Regions from separate parts of the Homo sapiens genome. Here regions 1, 3 and 4 are each linked to region 2. Evidence: promoter capture Hi-C in 16 types of primary human blood cells and fetal thymus (Javierre and others, 2016). All regions are on one chromosome and are shown on one strand. Each heading gives the region's core, a stretch centred on a gene start or on the middle of the fragment in contact. The rest is flanking DNA. Distances are from core to core; before and after follow the strand shown. Region 1 overlaps LINC00972 (long intergenic non-protein coding RNA 972). Region 2 holds the start of SEMA3D (semaphorin 3D). Region 3 overlaps LINC00972 (long intergenic non-protein coding RNA 972). Region 4 overlaps LINC00972 (long intergenic non-protein coding RNA 972).

Region 1 (5,706 bases), core at 2,844-5,343, 290 kb after region 2:
GTCATTGCATCTTTAAAAAGTTCTCTATAGAGTGGGATTTTTTAATAATACGAAGTTGGGGAAGGGGAAGGTGTTTGTCTCATATTTACTTTCTGCAGCTCATATTCTGCAAGTAATATTCTTGCTCCTTTCAAACTGTACCAAAACACCCTCATTAAGCAGTCAAGCTATAACCACAACAGCATCACCACACCCTCAAGAACAGTTGAGTTTTATACATTGTTCTCTCATTTTAAACAGCAAATGGCTGTTTCTTGCCCTCCGTGTCCATCCCCACACTGCCTCTAAAGGGCAAAAGCCCAGATAAGCAATTTAACAATTTACATTAACACATAATACTTAGTATCTGATTTCAGGTTAAGGTGATTTCATAATTGCTATTGCTGTTGTTTTTGCCCATTTATATAATTTTTCCCAGAACAAAGAATTCTATGACACAACTGGGGATTATACATTACAGCTTTAGGAAAAACCTAATTACCTAAAAATTTTAAATGACTCCCATATATGCACATGCTACATTACATGGATTTGTAGGGTATCCTCACAAAATTTTCCATTAGGTAAAAATGCATTTCCTGAAATATTTATCATACCTGTATTTATGCAATGTTAGTTTTCTCATTTATATTAGGTCTGTATAGTGCTAAAACCTAGTAATTGCTTAACAAATACTTGCTGAGTAAATCACGGAATGTATGGTACTGGAGACTTGAGGTTCAATAGAAATAATCAATAAATAAATCTTTGAATATAAAGGAGATGTCTGAGGGAGATGTGTAGAGTTTAAGGGAAATAAGTCAAAGAAGAAAAATAAACTGAAAAGGGAAGAGGAAGAGTAAAAGAATGGCAATAGCTGCAAACATCAAGAGGGATGTTTCATTCATATTGTTTAATTTTTCTCTTAGTCACATTTTAAATGAGTACTCATTACCTCATAGCTAGAGAGGCTACCATATTGGAGAGTGAAGCTTATAAAAATTTTCCATCTATTGCATAAAGTTCTATGAGGCAGCACTGCTGGAGAAAGTATTAGAGTAAAAAAAGAGGTAAGAAGTAAAAACTTGAAGAAAAGAGGCAATAAATAAAACTGCAACATCTGTAACAGTGACATCTGTTGGTTAAAAATGAATCAGGAGACTTTCAAAAATATTTATACTTTTGATTTTATATTCTATTAACATAGTTGGTTTGATTTCTCATGGACCCTTACATTAGTATTTCCAATTAAAACCACACTCTTTAAAATTGTGTTTGCTGCATATAAAATAATCATTGTTGTAGCAAATTTTTCAAAAACTAAAGCCAAGGCAGTTTAAAGATGTGTGATGGAAAAGAGAGGGGGAGTTAAGTCAAGAAGCAACAATTAAGGAAGTGTCTTAAACACCAACTCTATTTTGGTTTTCTTGAGCATTTCCACTCTTTCCACTTGTGTTAGTCACCATCCCGCAGTTTCCTTTCATGTCACTGAAAGTGAGTTAACTCAGAAAATAAAGAGGCATCTGTCTCCATGCTTTCACTATTCTATAAACAACTTACATTGCTCGCTACTGCGGCATAGAAGTTTAGTCAGACTCATTTGTTTTTCAAGTACCTTCCACTGTCTTCTCAGAATAAACACTATTGGAAAAAATTTACTATAGTAATCTTATGTGAGTTGTTTCCCTCTCTCTGAACTCAAAACATTCTTTCAGTATGTGAGAATGGCAAACTCAATTATTTTATGCTCAACAGAATTTTATTGAATCCCCTGACAGTTCAGATAAACTACTAAATGAATGTTTATTATAAGCATGCAGACAAATGATACATTATAGGGAGGAAACTACTCGAAGCAGTTATTCTACCTGTAAACAAAGTTTGCCTCGGAAGATTTTATTTTATTCCTAGAAAAATGCCATGGATTAGATTGAAAACTGGAGGATATGTCATTGTAATTTTGTTTGTCTGACTCTGCATCTTGTGTAACCAGGAATGTCTATTCTCATAGATTTTGAATTTAGACCAAGTGAAAACTTGACAACAGACTGTGTCTGCTTTTCCCAAACATCATTAACTTTTGAAAAACCCAAACCATCAGATGTGGTGAAGACAGGAGATGAGGGAGACTGATAGATAGATAGATAGATGATAGATGATAGATAGATAGATAGATAGTTAGAGAGCAGACATAGATGATAGATGATAGATAGATAGATAGATAGATAGATAGCAGATATAGATAAGTAATTTTAGTGTCAATTCTAAAGTCTCCTATGAATATTTGCACCACTCTTTAACAGATTTTAAGGTTTATTTTGTCATCATTGTGAAACCAAAGAATAGGTAGAACTTGCTTATGTTTTCAACAATGCTTTTAACACAAAGTATAAAAGCAACATATATTGTATATATGTTCTATCAACATATATGTTCTATCAACATATATTGTATATAATACCCTTAACTACTTTGCCATTAGTTATCTTTTCATTATTAGGATTCTAATCAATAGAATAATTGAAGCATATATGTTAAAAATCTGTTAAGTTAAAAATCTTAGTTTATAATATTTTAAGGAATAGTATATCTGAGTAGAAATCCATAGTCATAGAATCACAAGGAATGAGAATAACAATGGAACTTATGTTAGATTAGTCTTGGGACATCATCAGATGATTCCAGGCATGACCTCAATTGCTCTCCATAATATTATATGTATCATGCATATATGAGATAGTAAATATGGAAGTGTGCTTCTAAACAATTTCCTGATAGTGAATGCTTCAAAACTTATCTGTGACTCTATTTAATAAGTCTGATAAAATTGTAACTAAAAGAAGGACAAATAAGATGCAAAAAAGAGGAAGAAGAAGGAAAATAAGAGAGAGAAGGACAAAGATACAGAGAGAGGGAGGGCGCAAACCACCACCACCATTATCACCACCACTATCACAACAACAACTGGGATAGCAATGTTTTAATAGGGTAGTATTATTATCATTATTATTGCTTAATCTTTATTTCCATTAGCACTCTAAGTGCGGCGTATGTAAAAAATAAAATGTGCAGCTTCCTAAGGAAATAGATTTGAGAAAGCCAACTCGCAAATCTAGTGCTTCATTATATCAGCTGCATAAATTGTTTCCTAATTGGACACTTACTCATCTTTTAAACATACTAGCAGGTATAAAATGTTCAGGTGGAAAACCAGTTTAGGTTAATATATCATGTTATCTATTAGCACTGTAGCTGATTACTAAGTAATGCAAATGTTTAAATTACCAAAAAAACTATATCCTAATAAAATTGGAAATTTTTAATAATGACATTTTGTTTAACATTAATTCTCTAGAAAATGCACAAAACAATGTATATTTTCTGGCATCATGGAGCATTTAGACTAACATTTTCCTTCATATTGATGTCAAAGAGAAAGAATCAAAGTGACTTATGTCACCAAAAGAAACAGGAAAGAAATATTCTTTTAAACACCTACTCACAGCTGTTACCAAAAATCGTAGTAGATTTACTATCACATCAAATAAAAAAAATCAAAATGCTGTTTGTCTTTATTATTTCCTCTCCTCTGGGAAAGTAAGTGACCCATGCTAGTTGGTGAATGTTTTTCCTTTCTAGTGCAGGTGACAAGAGTAGGTTTTGGCATTTGTTTTGCATTACTGTCATTCTAAAAAGAAACTAGAAAATATATAACATTTGTATATATTAATTTCAGAAGCCAAATTACATAATATTTGTAATGAAAATTAAATGCAACAAATTCAAAGTCATAAAGAATTAGATATACTTTTATGTTAAGATGGCTTTTCTGTTAGGCTCATCTTTCAAAATTACAGCATTGAAAAATACATTTATCTGGTTTCGATCTGAATACCTACATTCTCACATGTGCATCTTCATACGAGTCAGACAGTGCCCACAAATATGCTCCTTTAGTAGTCTGAGCAGTTTTGCTGGCCTGTACCAAAATAGAAAGAAAATTATTAAGTAGAAATCCCCCAAGGGGAATCAAGTTGAGGTAATTTAAATGACAATCTTGTTTAACTTTGCATTTTTCTATAGGAAGTCATCTCCTGATCTTGTCAGAAAGAATTTTTTTCCTTTGCAACTCAATAACCCCCACATATGCCATTGTTATAGTAGTCATTTCATTTTCAGTTTATTTTCCTTATTTCTCTCTATTACACCTAGAACATAGAATTTTTATTAGTACTCAATCACACATTACACGTAGAACATTGTTTAGTACTCAATAACAGATAAATTAATGAACAAAAATTATTATTTAAATTCTATTAGGTTTCACATATAGCAATTCTACAAAAGAGTGCAAGGGAATAATTAAGACACAGAGCCAATAGTTTATCAGCACAGAATTTCGTTCCTTTAAATTAGGTGCTTAATATTAATTTGTCAAGTGGATTTATATCTAAAATATGCAAAAATTAAATGATAATATTATAGATTATGGTCTGTAAAATAGTAAGAAAGCATCTTGCACATGTTACAAAAACAGTAAATATCCACTGTTTTGAGTTGACTTACTTAGAAAAAGCCTCAGTTAATTCCAGTTAAGTTAAAAGTTCTGTTTAGGAAAGATTTCCCCCCAACCCCGGCTAATAAGCATTAATGACAGCTTAATCCTATCACATCTTTTCATGAGAATACCATGTTTTGGCAATGACCTCAATTATAATGCTAGTTTATTCTTTTCTGAAAGATATACCATGAAACTTCTAACTACTCCACTCCCACAACAGGATGTTCTGCTCTGATTGGCAGGGAGAGTTTGAAGGTGGGTTGGCAGAGACTGTGACCGCAACTGACTGCGTTCTGCAGAATTATGGTAATGAAATTGGAAGCCAACTTTCGTGAAGCAGAAAGCCTCAAGGTAATTGCCATGTACTATAACTTTTCCTTCCATTCGGAAAACAGAAATAAACAGCACATTTTCCCCATGAATCTACTGTATTTACCAGTATTGTTTGTGGGGTATACTTTGCCAGTTGACATTACTTTAGTAAACTTATTATTATACGGTGAACACCTGCCCCATAAATATAGAATAGAAAAGCTATATTATATTTGTGTTTGGTGAAATGAAGTGTTACCCAAACTCAGATGTGGTGAAGACCTTTTGTGTTCTCTATATTTATGGAAGCTACATGCCACTTAACATATACCAAATTTGGTAAGCAAACAACCTTGACTCAAAGTTCAACTTTACATGATCTTTGTGACCGGAGATTGGGTCATTCAGTTTCTAATGTATAGTTTCAACTAAGTTAGAATTCTAAGTATGTTTTAAATTTTAAAAATAAAATGTTAAGTTTCTTATTGAATAGCTAAATATTGAATTGAAAGACTACTTCCACACTTGATTGATGGAGTTTTCTCTTATTAGTATAGAAACCCATCAGAAGTTTATTTAGATTAGGTATTACTTAGGAAGATAGCATTAGAAAGTACAACCTTATCTTTTCCTATAGCAACAGGATGTAATGGTAAGAAAGAACAGAAGCCAGAGAGATCTGGACTTGTATTTCTGCTACTTTCTGTGTTCTTAGATAACTCACTTCAACTCTCTGAATCCTAATTCCTTGTTTAAACATGCAACTCTATTCTGTAAGTCTGTTTTTTAAGTACTTAGAAATAACATATATAAAGACCAAAAACAATCTCTGGTATAGAAAATTTTAAAAAAAA
Region 2 (5,237 bases), core at 920-3,419:
GACCCGACTGGGTTAAAGCAGTGGCCAGCTGGGGCTGATCACTCCCAACCCCGATCTTCTTGCTCATCCTCCTTGCTGTCTGGCCTCGGAGAAGGAAAAGGAGAAGGGAGGGCATCATTGGAGTGATGACATGTGTGTCTTCTTGCTCATCCTCCTTGCTATCTGGCCTCAGAGAAGAAGGAAAAGGAGAAGGAAAAGGAGAAGGAAAAGGAGAACAAAAAGGAGAAGGCAAGGCATCACTGGAGTGATGACATGTGGCTCTCTCCCTTCTCTGCCCTTCACATTTTTCTTTCCACGTGCAGAACTGGGAAGGCTCTGACCACCCCTGCCCCCGCGGTTGCCATGGTTACACAATAGCAGCAGCACCAGACCCAGGAGATGTCTCAGACCTCTCCTCTACCTCCGCCTCAACCCTTCCCTCTCTGTTAGGAGATCCTCCCCCTCGTCTCTGCGCGCCCCCACCCCGCCATCCCCCGCTAGCGCACACATGCAGGAGAACCCTTTTTAGGCTAAACCGGAAAGTTTAGGTCTTCTCCCCTCTTCTTTTGCTTGTGCAAATAGCACTAAGCTAAACGGAAAGTGGTGGGGTTTTGGTGATGAAATAAGAGTCCACGCACAGAAGCTTGCCTTTTATTACCGCTTCGCTCGAGGCGAAATCGCTGAAAGTTCGGCTATTTAACTCCTGTCCCCATAACTCGGAATCCCGGACACCAGCGGCCCCAGCTGCTGGCGCGCGGCTCTCTTCCAGTCCCCTGGATCCCAAAGCTCCCTGCCACAGCGCGGCGTCTCCTCCTCCTGTCAACTTCCCTCCTTGCACTGTGACGGAGGCAAAGCAACTCAGCCCAGGAGGTTGAACTCGAGTCATCAGAGAAGGAGAAACAGTGCCGAAAACGGCCCGTGCGCTACCAGGGTAGCCCATTAACGCATTAACTCCAGGCTCGTTGGGCAGAAGCCGGGAGGAAACACCCTGGGGACCGCACTCCTGGTTAAATGCCCAGCACGAGTCAAATCCGGCCTTTCCAAAGCGAGCCAAGCCCACTACTACAAAGAGATCCCCCGAGTGTTTTGCCTTAACCACATTTCAGACAGCCAGCTTTGTGGCTGCTGTTTGACTCCAACTTTCCCTCTAAATCTAAAAGGATGCACACTTCCATCAGACGGAACGTCGCGATTCCCCGGCGAAGAAAAAGGCGTCGCCCATTCCTCTTCCAAAACGCTACAACAAAAACCACCACGCTTCCCTTCCTTCTTCCTTGCCCCTTTCCCTTCTCCCAGACCAACAAGGAAAGGAGCGAGCGAGGGCGCAGATGCCCTTTGGTCAAGTACTCCCCGGATGTTCCCGACTAAAGCGTCTCCAAATGAACCTGCAGCCTGCGGAAGCCGGGGACACATTCATAGACGCTCTCTGCTGCCCAGACCAGGAGGGGTGGTGGGGGAACCAGGAAGCCAGGGAGAGAGCAAAGTTCCTGGACGCGTCTCAGGAGGAAAACTTTGTGCAGTGCTGCCAGGCGGAGGCTCGTCAGAAGGCTCCGCAGCTGCTGAGGCGGGGTGGGACTGCGCCCCAGGGGCCGCGCTGAAGCTGGCGCCGCGATTACTGCGCACCGATTTCGCCCACTCTCTGTCCGCTCCCGGGAGCCTTCTCTGTCTCAGGACGGTTCCTTATCTCCCAAACCATGCTCGTCCTCCACTTCGGACCCACAGCCACCCCCAAATCCCGGCTATCCCCGCTTAGCACCGCGGTCTCCAGCACACCCTCCCACTGGAGTAGCAGGTGACCCAAACCAGACTTACCTGCTGTGAACTCTTCTCTCCCTCTCTCTTTTCCTGGTGCCTTTTCAGGGAGAGGGGAACGGGATGCAGGCTGAGGTCCAGCGGCGCGGCAACCCGGGGCACCGGCGCGCGTTCCTCTGAGCCGCAGCCCTGGCTGAGCAAGCGGAGCCGCCGGCAGCCCTGGCAGAGCCGGGAAGCTGCGGCCGCAGGGGCCAGGCCGGGAGGCAGGGGGCGCTGCTGCCTCCCCCGAGAGCCGCGCTAGGACAGGCGGAGAGCAAGGCACCAGCTGGAGCTTTGGGGAGGAGAGGGTGGCGAGGAAAGGCACGCTCCAAACAGGAGGGCGGCTTTTAAGTTTGTGGTGTGACCGCAGCAGCTGTCCTGGGAGAGACTCAGTCTTTCTAAAAAGAGGATGCTGAAAACGCCGGGGATTACCTTTCCCCTTCCGATCTCCTCCCCCAGCCCTCGCCCCCTCCTTCCACTGCGCACGCCAGAACTCCCAAGCGTGCAGAAGTTCATCCCTGCTGCGCGGAGGCTGCCAGCAGCGTGGATTTAGAGGTAGCCCTGGCCAAGCGCTGACGGATGTTTATCAGGACAGGGCACCCTATGTGTAAAGCAACCTCTAACGTCTGATCTTCCTTCTGGGTGACTTGGGGACTTCTTTAGTTCCTTCTCTATACCATAAAACCTGTTAAGGGACCCCATGAGGAAGAAACAGGGAGAGTGACCACAAACACCGTCCTAAAAATGCTAATCCCACAAAACAGTACCTGCGTTCCACTATGTAAAACCTCAATCCACGGTTAATGGCCTTGACAAGGCAGGCATAGGGATGAGGAACAGGGATCAACCCTCCGTTAAGGGGCTGGCACCCGATTAAGACCAAACAGGGAGAGATAAAAACGAGTAGAATGTAATCCTTTCTTCCTCTTTCCCTTACGCCAGACCTACAAAGAGGTGTGCCTCATATCCTTGTCTTCGGGAGTTTTTTAGATTTTTGCACCCCTTATTCACACAGTAGGAACTTAGAAGTATATAATGACGAGAAGATCTAAGTTTTGATGAACCTGGATCCTATGCAATTGGAATAGAGGATCCTCTTTAAGCAAAAGTAATGCAGAAATATCTCACTTCTACAGATTCTGCAAAAATATATGACAATGAGAGTTCATGAGGCCACCGTCAGGGACATTAAAAAGGCCTGTGCATTTGGTGAGCCCTGTACGTTAGGCATTTTTAGCTGCATGGTAAATCCTTTGTGATGGGATATCCAGGTTTATAGTCACACACCTTGCCCTTAGTCCCAAACATAAATCTGACATGAGGTAGAGACATGGAAAGCAAGCAGCCACGGGATCCTGCATTTGTCAGCTTGATTTAAGAGCACAAGGTGTAGGGTCCCAAAGCTTCCTTAGCAAGTAACAAGAGATATCTTGATTTGGAGATGGTGAACAGACAAATGCAGTAATGGAATAACTGAAAGGGGTGGAAGACATTCTTCATTTGACCTTTTATCTGTGGCAGAGGGCTGAGGGCCACAGAAGCTAAAGGAGTCATTTTAAGTTATAAATGGTTGATGGCAGAGTCAGGCTAAGGAAAGGCTCAGGTTTCTCAAATCTGACCAAGGCTCTTTCTTGTGTCTCATGCTGCCCCATCTCTATAACCTTGGTTTGGACTCACAACCAATCAACCCCATAAATACCCTCTTTGGATAGAGAAAAAAATTTTAAATCCTCGTAGACTATTTCAAACTATAGCAACTTTTATTTTTTTTCTGAATGCTTTATATTTAATGTTATACCACTCATTCTGTACATAGTCATGCAATTGTTTATTGTATGTTTCTATGTGTTTATATTATTTTCATTTGTATATGTCATTGCACTTCCATGCAAATTGCAATGTCATTGTGCAAATAAAATATCTCTTTTTTTCTCCCGTATATGGTGGGTTTATAGTAAGTAGTTTTTGATTTTTAGAAAATCTCTATTTTTAAACTTTTAAATAATTTTGTCAGTTTATTGGCCAGAATTTTGTGTTTAACTAGAATTGTGGTTAACTTTGGATTTCCCATTTTCCTCCTTTCTCTTTTAAGTTGTAGCTTAATATGCTTAAACCAAATGACACCTTCCTTTGCTACCATTCAATACTTTCCATAAAGCCCTTACAGAATTAATCACTCCCTCCTGTTTTCCCAAAGCACTTTGATTTCACTACTATAATAAGCTCTTTTCACTTTATATTATAATTAGTTATGCATGTGTCTGCATCCCATACAAAAGTGTTGGCTGTTTTGTGTCTTTGTTTCTTCAGCCTCTAATACAATGCCTGTGACATTGTATTGTACTGATTTAGTTTGAGATGCTCAGACTTCAAATTTAGACAGAATTTACCAGAGTATCCTGAACATATCATGAGAAAACAACATCTGGAACGTGAATTCTGTGCTTTCCTTCCTTTTAATGACTCTGAGCACAAAGCAGATGGAATCAACTGTTAATATGTTGCCCAATGTGATGAATGGCCTCAGCTGTGTCCATGGCTCCGTAATCTTCAGGCTGCTTCCCTGAATGTCTTGAATGTGTTAGGTGCTTAACAAATATTTGTGTGTTAAACGAGTTAATAAAAACAGTAGAAATAATGTTAATATTCAGTCACTGGATTTATTTCTGAATTTCTAATAACTGTATAGGGTCCCACCAAGATAGTTTTAACAACCCTTTCTAAGAGTTTGAGATCTACTTTCATCAAAAGCAATTTGGTATTCTGTCCTATAGGGCTAATACCCTATCTAAATTCTTAAAATAAAACCCAGTGGGAAAAAAAGTATATTTTACAAAAAGTTTTGCTAAAATACAAGGTGTATTGTGCAGTTTAGTTTGTCTTCAAGGGTGACTATTCAAGATTTAACGAGTGAGCCTTAATTTCACTGAAAGCGATGTGTATATCATCAGTTAAAACCACCTAATTGTTGCTTGTATGCCTGTTTCAGTCCAAGGGGAAAAATACAAACAAAAAGAAAAAGGAAAGAAAACAAATAACTTTCATGTTCTTGGAAACATTATTGAATAAATAAATTGTGTGCCTTGAGAATCTAGGCTATTCTGAGACATACTACTCCTCACCCATCTCTATTTGGGCTCACAAATATAATATGAGTAAGTAATTTTCATTTTATGGTAGTAATATGTGTTAGGCAATATGAAATACACTATTTCTCAAAGGATCACATTTAATGCCAAACAAATCCAAAGAATAAAATTCTAATTGTAGAATTTCAGTAATCATCCATCTATGTTGAGAGCCATGGGAGAAGGCAGCAGGGATGGGTTAGGGTAGAATAGACATATTGTAGGCTTCTCCAATTCCACATATAGCTACCTCTGAACAGAAGACAGGAGAAAGGTAATTACTGGGTCCAGAGCTTAAATCTAGCAGAAGATTTGGCTGTCCTCTCAGCAGAAGATACT
Region 3 (6,084 bases), core at 1,192-3,691, 300 kb after region 2:
GGTTTTATCTGCAAGAATATAGATAGCATCTGCTTTGATATAAAACTTTTATGTGTCTTATGTAGTTGATTTGTAAATGTCCTATCTATAAATATAAAACAATAAATTACTAGTTACAGTTAACTTAGGAAAACTTTTAATCATGTCCTACATTTTACACCTTGTAATTTCTACCAAATGTTTGTATTTTTATGTCTTATTAAATATAATAAATATTTGTCTTAACATATTTTAATAGAATTCCTCATATGTTTTGCAGAAAGCTAATTATGGTTTTCCATGTGATTTTTCTTTCATATATACAGTATTATTTAAAATAAATTTGTATAAAATAAGCCAAGTGTTTTTTATTGTAATGTGTATATTACATTAAGAAATACTATACATTCTCTAATGCCATTTTATATGCAATCTTCTAAGCACTAAGTTTATATTTACCAGGAAAAGGTTCAATTTGGTGACTTAGGTCATGGCTTTTTTATTCTTTATTTAGAGTTGACAGTAGTGTAGGCGTATGTCTGGGCCATTCGCCCAACTATACCAATGGTTCCCTTTCATTTTCTTTCCCTGATTCAGCATCAAGCATGAGTTACATATGGTCACCAATCTTCCAGACAAAAAATAGCTAAAGAATAGTAAATTTTTCCACTACATTAGTCATCTGGGACTCCTCTCTGTGGTCAGTACCTGCATGGAAAAAGGATTAAAAAAGCATTTTCACTGATAACAGTCCTTCAAATATATTATTTTTTCAAAGATCATCAAACCACAAAGATAGTTCCAGTCAGACATCCAGATGTTTACTCTGAGTCACAGAGTAGCTATCAAACACTGTGGTAAGGGATTCCCTAAGTAGGTAACCGAGTTTTCTGTAGACAGCAAAGGCTCTTAGACATGGATTTGAGTAATCAAGTTTTATTTAGTTTGCTGACTTTCAAGTTTCATTCCATGGCTTTTTTGACTACTCTGTATAAAATTTGGAGCTATGTTTTATAATAAATACAATGCAGAATAGAGCAGAGTTCCCACAATGAGGTAGTTCATAGATGCATCAGATGTGCTTAAGAAACTATAAAAATAGCTAAACACCTAGACACATTATAATTAGCACTGTCAAATATCATTGGAACAATTTAGAGGATAAGGGTATCACATCTGTTTGGAAATATCAAGAAGTCTTCACAAAATTGATTCTACACTTTATGAGACTGAAGGATTTCAACACACAGAAAGAGGGTGACATTTTAGGGAGAAGCAAAGTTATGAGCTTGTATTAGACTTTTGTGACCATAGGAAATTATTGGGATTAAATCGTGAAAACTATGCAGAGCTTTAATTTTGGATGCTGACTTGGGCAATTTTTATTAAATTTGGTAGCTTTTTTTTTAGTATAATTACATTTTCTAAGTGTGATCTAGAAAATTTAATCTGAAGTCTTGAGTAGAATGAAATAACATAGGGCAAGAATAAAGAAATGAAACCAATGAGGAGATAACGACACCAATGAAGAGATAAGAGAACAATGAGGATGCCATACAAAGTACAAAAAAAAAAAAAAAGAGAGAGACAGAAAAGAAAGGAAAGGAGAAATGTATTGACAAAGTAGAAATTATACTGCCTAACTAGCTAAGAAATACATTTGACAAACTATGCTAAACATTTCTGTTATTTTGAATTGGGACTTGTATATTGCAGACATTTTTATTAGATTGAGAGGTAGGTTAGTAGACTTGGCTTTCACCCTATTAAATTTGTAGTTCCATGAATTCTTCTGGGCAGTTTATCTAGTAGACAATTAAAATTAGAGAACTGAAAGTCCAGAGAAATCTAGACATAATTCAACTGGTGGTAATTGTGAAATTTGTTAATTATTGAAATCAAAGTCTTATATTTTATTGACAATGTTATAGGGTATTCCATGTGTAGTATGATTAGCTTTATGCTACAATCGTTTTCAGCAAATTTATCTCAATTTTGCTTTATGCGTTGGCTGTAATTGACAAGCTTGGGTGTGCAATGACTGGGACAGATGGTCTCATTATCCATACCCATTTATCTTTTCTTTCTTAATTTCATTCATTACTCAAATAACAGTAAATGATTACTATGTGCTCAACAGTATGTAAATTACAGTGCTGTATAAAATTGAGAGATACACAGGTTTTTTTTTCCCTCAAGATACTAAGGTTGGTTGAGGAGTAGGATATCATTGCTAATTGAAGTATGGTTTTAGAATCATGAATTCAAAAATTCCATTACATTAACTGATTTGTCATACAAGGCTCAATTAGAAATCAGGAATAATTAAATATGTTTACCTAAAAATATCTGAGTGTCATTTGACAAATACATAAAGAAAGAGTGATTCAGCAATCTGTATTCATGACAAGTAAGAATCAGATTTTGGCAATACTTGCCCTTCTTTGAAAAGTTGTCTTTTGCAGTTTGCCTTAGAAAACAATTTGGAGAATATTGCTTGTTGTTCATAATATGATTGAAGTTTCATACTATTACAGCTAATATTTTTGATTCATGAACTTCACTTACTCCTCTCCAAATTTGTTTTAATAAGCCACATCTAGATTTTTAAAATTTGGAATGTGAAGGCAGACTTCTATGCCACCAATTATTTTCCTAACCATTTTCCCTTTTCCTTTCCTTTCTTTTTTCTTTTCTCTTTTAAAAATTTTTCTTCTCCTTTTTCCTTTTCTGAATAAATCAGAGACCAAGATTCTGTGTTTGCATATATCAGCACGTATGGCCCTAAAATACATGTAATGTTTCATTTAATTCAAAACAGTCTTGGTGGATAACAATAATTGGGTGAACTATACAGATAGGCTCCTCCTTGGTTCTTCACCAAATAAGCCTAGTTCTCACAAGCTTTGCTCTCTATAATCCTGGCACCTGAACAACATTAGAAACATTGCAATCCATCTAAAATAAGGAAGGTTTTCTAATAGTTTTAGAACTACAAAACTATAGCTACTTTCAAATTACCTTTTAAGTTTTGAAAACTTTAATTTCAGAATTTTATCTTGACTTATACCATGTATACTTGAATATATTACCCGTTATTGTTAACATTTAATTTCCTTTTTGTTATAGTTAAGGAAAAAATACATATTAATAAGAATAGCAATATCTATACAATAGTTTTTTGGGTGTGCCATCTATGCCTGGAAAAATATTAGATTAGACATAAAACACAGGTAGTTTTATGAAAAATTTAGTTTTCATTTTCTATTTGGTCACCTTTACTTTTCTGAATTACCTATAAAAATGGGCACATGAGCAAAACATTGATGTCTTATAGAGGACAGTACTAACAACATTAAAAAAGAAAAAAATTACCCCCAGCGATTTATGCTACTTTTAAGATAGGTTTATTCAGGAGGTTAGGGCTTACCAGTACCTCTCTACCTCCACTATGAACTTCACTAAGAAGATTGTGTGGGAATTATCACTAAATTGGTGGTGTTTTCATTAGTTATGGCATCTAACCAAAGACATCTGAGGGGCCATATCACAAATTTGAAACAGCAGAGAAAACTTGCCTTTTGTTTTCCTTGTGGAGTAATTAACTGAAGGTGCAGAGTATCATTTCTCTGTAAATTACTTGGGATATATTTTTAAATTAACCATCTCCAAACATTTTATGTATAAATAGCATTTTATAATTCCATGCTGTAATTACTTCCTCATGCTAAAATCAAAGTTGGTAAAAATATATCAGCCTCTTTTATTGGACTTATTTTTTATACTCTTCCCAGTTTACCCATTGGGGATACACTCTCCAAAGTTTTTTTTTCCATAAAACAAAACAAACAAACAAACAAACAAAACCTTTAGATGTTTGGGTTTCCATATTTAGCCAAAGAAAACATTGGATGTAGACATCCAATGTTTCTTTATTAAATTTTTAATTCTTTATTAAACTCCTGTCTTTTATTTGAATTTTCTTTTTACCATTTCTTGTTTAAATCTATACAAGACCATGGTCCTCTAAAAGCCATCAATTTTACTTTAAACCAAAATTTTAATTTACATATTTTTTCAGAATTCTAAATTGAGCCCCAATGATTACTCTTACAGTACAATAGCGGTGTTAATATAAGAGTCTCAAAACTTATACAGGAAAATAGTAACAGGTTTTGATAGAAATTTCAAATGTTTACCTACAAAACCATATATAATGAGATTAACATATGGCTGAAACACAACACTCATATCTTATTAAAATGATAACTCCATGGAAGTGGAATATTTTATATCCTTATTTTAAAAGCTAGCTGTGTTAGTTTGGCTGGGCTGCCATAACAAAGTACCACAGACTGGATGACATAAACAACAGGAATTTATTTCATACAATTCTGAAAGGCAAAATGTCCGAGATCAAGGTGTCAGCCAGGTTAATTTCTTCCGAGGCCTGTCTTGTTGGTTTGCAGATGGTCATCTTCTCTGCGTATGTTCATATGGGCTTTCTTCTGTGTGTGTCTGTATCCAAATTTCCTCCTCATGTAAGGACACAACATATACTAGATTATGGCCCATTTTAATGATTCCATTTAAACTTAATTACCTCTTTAATTACCCTATCTCCAAGTACAGTCACATTCTGAGGCACTCTGGGTTAAGGCTTCAACATGTAAATTTTGGGAAGAAATAATTCACCATAATATAAGCTGTTAAATTTAAAATGCTGTATTTAAAACACTATCTACATGCTCTATTTTAGAAGTAAGCACAGGTTAAGAGTTGAAAAATTGTTAATTATATATAAAGCCAGAATTAGTAATTCTTCCAGAAGCAAAACTTATTTTCTTCTTTGAATAATATCCTTAGTATTTTGACTGGAAAATGTTCATTAACTAGAATTTTAAGCACCTAATATCTAAATTCATTGGTAGATTTTACTGCCAATTCATTTGTGGTAACTTTGTTACTTTGTCTTGGAGAAGACAAAGATCAATAAGATACTGGTTCTGTCCTTAAAATATCCACTCAAGATTCAAGGGGGAAGGCATATTATTCCAAGAAAGAAATGGCTATTTTTCCTGAACAAATTATCATGGACATAATATAAACAATTTTCTACTGTTCTTTATTTTTTTCATTATAATTTCGCTAGCACTGTCAAATTTAGGTAATGCCTTCATTATATAGAAATTAAATACTTATTACTTTTAAATGTTAATACATTTTGTTGCAATTCAGTTCTGGAACAATGAAATGCTTAACAGGAAGAGGAAAAAGATTCAATTCTATGGGTCTGCATAGCAACCAAATTAAAAATAGTCTAAAAATACCTAGAATAAGGCAAGGGAAAAACTGCATGATTCATTTTTCATTTTGATACTTCAATGTTTTTGACACTCTTTACACTGATGTAGGATTTTTCTTCTTGGTCATTTTGTAAGCCAGGACCCACAGCTGGCAATGCTCTGCCTGGGCCTCACTTGGCCATGCTGGTGTGCCCCAGGTTGCCTGTGTTGTAGCTTGCACTCACATTTGGTGGTTCCTGAGCTCTTGCACCATGTCCAAGAAGAATGAAGATACACAGGACATTGAAGGAAGGGGAAGATGGAGAAGAATTTTATTGAGTGAAGGAAATGGCTTTCAGAGAAGAGGGGATCTAGGATTGGTCCCCCTACTTGAAGGCAGGAAAGGTCCCCCACCTCATGTGGCTGGGTCTGGGGCCTTTTGTTGATACAGAATGGGGAGTGCGTGCTGATTGGTTTGTGAGTATGAAAAAAAAGATTAAAGCAAAGACACCACTCAAAGGTGGGCACCACAGTGTAGAAAATCAATTAGGAGAGGGTAGACATATGTAAAATAGGTGAAGAGTGGGGAACTATCAGAGGAAAGCATGCCAAATGGGAAGACAAGTTCTCAATCCAGTGCAAGGATATAAGTTGTAGCTTGGCTTTCAGGCTTTAAACTGTCTTTGGCTTGAGGTGGGGTTTCACCAGCAATTCCCCATCCGCCTAGGCATTTAGCTGCCTCCTGCCACTCTCAGTACTACTAATAAATAAGCACTGAGTTAATTTAGCTTATTTTCTGTTAAAACGTTTTATATTGTAA
Region 4 (5,299 bases), core at 386-2,885, 270 kb after region 2:
TGGTTAGTTTAAACACATGAACAAGGTAAGGCTATTATTCTTTGGTTGGTAAGTAACTAAATGAAAATGCTTTACTACTAAGTATTTTTATTAAATACTAGTACCACTAAATTAGAAAATTCTCAGGCCCTAGATTTAGGAATTTATTTAGCTGTAGTGCAAACATGTAGAATATAATTCATAGGGAAACAGTTTTTCCAGTTAAGAATCTTGAGGACTACATTAGCAAAAAAATACTTAAATTTGATTTTTGAGACTAATAAAATAAATGTAATTAATAATAATGCAAAAACATAACTACAATTGTTAAAATATATTAGTTTGATATTTTGTCTAGTTAATTTAACAAAAGAAAATGAGAGGGAGCAGAGAAAAGGAAAGAACATAAATTGTCAGAAAGTTGGTCTACTTTGTAAAATTCTTAATTGACTTAGATGTAACTAACTTAATAATATGTTACTTGAAAATATAAATAGTGAAATTTGTTATAATTTTAATTGTTATCTCATGGCCAAATGAGATGTAAACTGTAGAAAACCTCTGTTTTTCTAAGTTGTAATGAGGAAAACTTATCTTTCTGTCTACCTGTAACTTTTCAGAGCCAAAATATCTCTGAAAAAAATTTGTCTCTTTGAAACACTTTTCCTTTTCTGATAAGCAATAATTATATAGTTTTTCAAGTGACAACTCATTCTTAAGAGCCATAAATGACATTGAGAGAGTTATAAAAGATTTTAATTTTATATATTGACAAGTATAATCCAAATTTCCTATTTCACCAGATAAAAGTAAATTTTCATAATTACATAAAAATATGTACTAGTATGTCTTGAAGTTGATTATTCTATTAGTGTTTTTTTTTCCTGCTTTTGTATGGATAGAATCAACCTTTTGTAGGCTGTTACTTTTGCCCTATCTTTATATTTCCTGGGTACCAATCTCCTTACCTGCAAAGAAAGAGATTTGAAAATGTGGTCTCTAGTGTCCTCTCCTGACATAGCCTATAGATTCTAAATCCTATCCACAATTCCCAATTCAAGACCACATGGCCATTTTCAGTTCCCCCACCCATGTTATCGAGATAGGCTGACTTCTCTTTGCCAAGTTTGTTCATGGGACCAATGTGGTATATCCAAAGTGTATCTAATCTTGAAAAAATGATGACATCCTTGAGGATAGACTATGTATTATACTTTCCTATCCTCATCACAGAATAGGTGTTTAATAAATACCTATACTATCATCACAAAATCACTTATATCTTGTATGATATTGTACTAAAAAGAAAAGAAAGTGACTGTCACTTGATTAAGTTTCTTATCTTTTGGGGGGCACAAACTCTGCTTTTTACAACTTTTACTCAGGAAACTGATTTAACACAGAGAGAACCATTAAGTATCACTATTTTTGTTGTATCACTTCCCCCTGCATATCCTGATTTAGAAGTATTCTTTAATTACCAAAGAAATAATGCATCACTGAATCAGGAAATGTTTAATTATGGTCTGGTAGGAGCTTTGCTCACACATAGGTAAACCGTGTAACTTCTGGAGTCATTGAAAAATAATATTTCTTAATATCTGACAAGTCGTCAGCTATGCACTTAAGACAAGCCTCAAAAACACTTGTTTGACTATAGGTGGATAGGTGGACATTGGGTCAGAGTCAGACATGTGTTTGAAATATAGCTTTGCCATTTATTGAGTAAACTTAGAGAAGTTGATTAACTCTTCTGAGCTTCAGTTTCTCTGTTACAGTAAAATAGAGAATGGTAGTAACTATCTTACATTTTTGTTGAAAAGATTCCTTAGGATGACATATATAAACCACTTAGCATTCCTTGGCCTAAAGAAAGAAGTTTAATAAGTAATTTTCTTACTATTTAAATTATTGTGTGGAAACTATTATAGAGTGTATTTTTGTTTATCTTTAAAAACAGTTTGCTTTGGTTTGTCAGATTAATTTGTGAGAACATGAATAGCACAGTTGTGTAAGAAGTTTAGAACCTGTTTAGCTTAAGATCATGGAATCATCGAATATTAGAGCAGTGGAACACTGAGACATGAAACGTTTCATTTCACTTCCATCATTCACAACACATAATACATATACATCATACAGACGAAGAAAAGGAGACCCTGGAAATTGGAATATATTTTCTTTGTTTGCACATATAGAAAACTTGGGGGCTAGTCCTAATTCTCTCTTTTTCTAGCCAGCATTGCTTTATCCACACAATTCAGTCCTCTCAGATAATGAGAGATCAACATGAAGAAAATTGGAAGAAAGTAACAAAACATGACATAGATTTGGAATGTATGTGTTATCTAGTAACAAAATAATGCTATAAGACAACCATAATGCTCAGTAACACACAATAATAAACATTATTCAAATCTATAGGTGGGTTACTTATGCCGGACTTAGCTGGCCTGATTTTCTGATCTGACTGGGCACCCTCAGGCATCTGTGGTCTGTTTCTGAGGAAAGACGGCTATTGGCTGAGGCACTCAGCACTTCTCATAGTCTATTATCTTCAAGGTAGCTTGGGCTTGGGCTCACAGAATGGTAGGAATCCAAGAGAGAGAGAGAGCAGAGGCATTCACATTTCTTGAGGCTTAGGCTTATCCCTGCTACCGTATCACCTCTGCCAAAGTCTACTAATCAAATACATCATGAAACCAATCCAGAACTAAGTGGTGGGGAAAGTGGGGAAACAGACTCCACTTCATGATGGGAAAAACGTCAAAGTGCTGTTGCTAAGATGTAAACACGAATAGGGGTGAAGACTTGGGGCCAATTTTTTAAGCCTTCAAAGGAGATTGCACAATTTTGTAATAAAATTAACCTTTCCATCCTCTGTCTTAATAATATTTCTCCAAAATATTTGATATGTTGGTGTCTAGTTGCTGTCTAATTGACATTATAAGAAAACTTCAACATTTAATATGAAAAAAATGCCAAAATAAAATATTTTAAATGTTAATAAACTCAGTTGGATTGCAAAATGTAAATATCAACGTTATCTCTTCTTTAACCATAAGCAGCCTTCCATACCCTTAGTCAGAGTGCATGTGGGCTGCTCTTTATCATGAATTAAAACCAGCTTTGAAATCTCTTTGTCACTTTCTGAAATCAAGATTAGAATTAAGCGTTAATGCTACCAAATATATCAATCATCTTAACACAACCATTTAGGCACTCATACAGAAGACTTATCATCCTATTACAATACAATATATCAGAAAATCTTGAAAATTATTGTTGTGATATATATGCATTTATGCATTTTCATTTTATTTATATTTTAACATAGATAAGAGTAAAAATAATTACTAAAATAATCAGTTTATTTTATTATTTTTAATGGCAAATCAAGTAGATTTTAGGTGAAAAGATTTAGAGTTGAAGTCATCTATCTTATGTATAAGGTAGAAATATTTGCCCGTTTTCTAAATCATTATTGTTAGTTAACAAGAAGCTAATTTGAAAGGCTGTTTATAAAACAATTTATAGTTACTGTTTGAAATATTAGTAATATTTTTGAAGGATATTAGTAAGTTATTGGAACTGATTAAGAAGATAAATCTCTGAAATTAATTTTCTATCATAAACACAAACATTTTTTAAAAATTGAGCTTATCTTAATAGAATAATATTAAAATAAGCTTATTCCCTACTTCAACACTTAATACTCTTGTGTTAAAATAAATTACTTTCATAACAAATATATTATGAACAATGCATATGATTTTTCTATTCCACTGGAAATAAAGCTAAACTTTAAAGTAAGATGATTGTTCTATAAATTTCAAGACAATTGTAAGTAAAAATGTGCTAATTTCATCTTAATGGTGGTACCTTAAACTCAAGCCAAATCATGATTATAAGAAATCAGACTAGGACAGAATGAAATATAAGTCCCTGAGCTTTAATAAAGAGTAATTATTTTAACTGAGGGTTTTTTCAGGACTTGATGCTTTTTTACATCACTGACATTATGGGAGACATTATCAAAATTATTAACAAGTATTTTTGAAGATGTTAATATTTGAAGAATTATAAATGCAAGACTATAGTTACAAATGCTGTAATCAAACTTTTCTCTTATACATTTATGAAAAATAACATTATAAATATAAAGATTTTCTGTTTTTCATCTTTCATCGACGATGTATGGCTTTCAAATTCTTCTGTTAGCATAGGAGGAATAATGTTTCAAAATGTATTTTTTTGAGCATATATATTGGCAATATAATGTGCTAGTTGAACTTCTAACACTTGGCTGATATTAAGTCTTGGTTAATGTGCTTTTTCTCTGGTATTTCTAAAAGTGCTGTACTGCAATATTTTTCATTTGTTGATTTACCTGGTTAGACAGAATAGGTGTCTAATTTAGAAAAGGTAGCTCTTGTTTATTGTGACTTTTATATTTATTTACAATGTTCAGTAGTACTTTACATTCTCTTTAACGAAATCAGCTAAATTCCAACAACAACAACAAAACTCTGAGGCATTCATGTAGAGTAGGGTGCAATAACCTTTGCTGTTTTTCCAATAAATCATTTGGCACTTATAGCTTATAATAAACAGTTCTCTTCATGCGCTCTGAAGGAATCTGATCTTTCGCTAAGGTAAGTGTTATCCCAAGGGTTCAGAGAGGATGGAAAGAATTTAGAAACCTCAAAGTTGGCTTCTGTGAACACCTGGTTAATTATGTGAGACAATAAATGGGAAGTATGGCAACTTTAAGCATACTTATTTATTTCCAGACTACCAGGGTGTGTATATATGTGTGTGTGTGTGTGTTTGTGTGTATATATACGTATATATACGTATATATACATATATATATGTATATATACATATATACGTATATATACGTATATATACGTATATATACGTATATATGTATATATACATATATACATACATATACGTATATATACGTATATATACATATATACATACATATACGTATATGTATGTATATATACATATATACATATATACATACATATACGTATATATATGTATATATACATATATACATATATATACGTATATATACATATATATACGTATATATATATGTGTGTGTGTATATATATATATATATATATATATATATATATATACTTGTTTTCCTACTTCCCTATGTAGAATACATATAAAATAAATAACTTTATAATAAACCTTATGAAAGATAACCCTCCAGACTCTGGCTCATCTAATTTTACCTTGGAAGGAATAGTATTATTTACCAATCTTAATAACAAATACCTGAAAAGCTACCAGA

Evidence for each region. The method cuts DNA at HindIII sites, captures the fragments that hold promoters and counts their contacts. A CHiCAGO score of 5 or more calls a contact.
Region 1: a contact is called between a fragment that was not itself captured here and the fragment with the promoter of SEMA3D in region 2, in 3 of 17 cell types (total B cells, naive B cells and megakaryocytes). The highest score is 14.3, in total B cells.
Region 3: a fragment that was not itself captured here is called in contact with the fragment with the promoter of SEMA3D in region 2 in 2 of 17 cell types (naive B cells and total B cells); the score reaches 10.3 in naive B cells.
Region 4: a fragment that was not itself captured here is called in contact with the fragment with the promoter of SEMA3D in region 2 in 3 of 17 cell types (total B cells, naive B cells and megakaryocytes); the score reaches 33.8 in total B cells.

The regions. Positions count from the first base shown.
Region 1 is chr7:85,470,470-85,476,175 of GRCh38, forward strand. LINC00972 (long intergenic non-protein coding RNA 972) reads left to right here. Exons shown (of 4, transcript NR_134240.1): 3 at 4,783-4,891. Among named protein-coding and RNA genes, the nearest start is that of LINC00972, 52 kb to the left of the region's middle. The HindIII fragment of the contact is 6,248 bases long and covers 970-5,706 here.
Region 2 is chr7:85,184,887-85,190,123 of GRCh38, forward strand. It overlaps SEMA3D (semaphorin 3D), which reads right to left and starts at 2,170. Exons shown (of 19, transcript NM_001384900.1): 1 at 1,792-2,170. RefSeq lists a silencer at 1,982-2,041. The HindIII fragment of the contact is 2,551 bases long and covers 621-3,171 here.
Region 3 is chr7:85,489,004-85,495,087 of GRCh38, forward strand. LINC00972 (long intergenic non-protein coding RNA 972) reads left to right here. Exons shown (of 4, transcript NR_134240.1): 4 at 1-335. Among named protein-coding and RNA genes, the nearest start is that of LINC00972, 71 kb to the left of the region's middle. The HindIII fragment of the contact is 879 bases long and covers 2,003-2,881 here.
Region 4 is chr7:85,455,459-85,460,757 of GRCh38, forward strand. The region is part of intron 2 of LINC00972 (long intergenic non-protein coding RNA 972); the gene reads left to right. Among named protein-coding and RNA genes, the nearest start is that of LINC00972, 37 kb to the left of the region's middle. The HindIII fragment of the contact is 4,061 bases long and covers 1-3,666 here.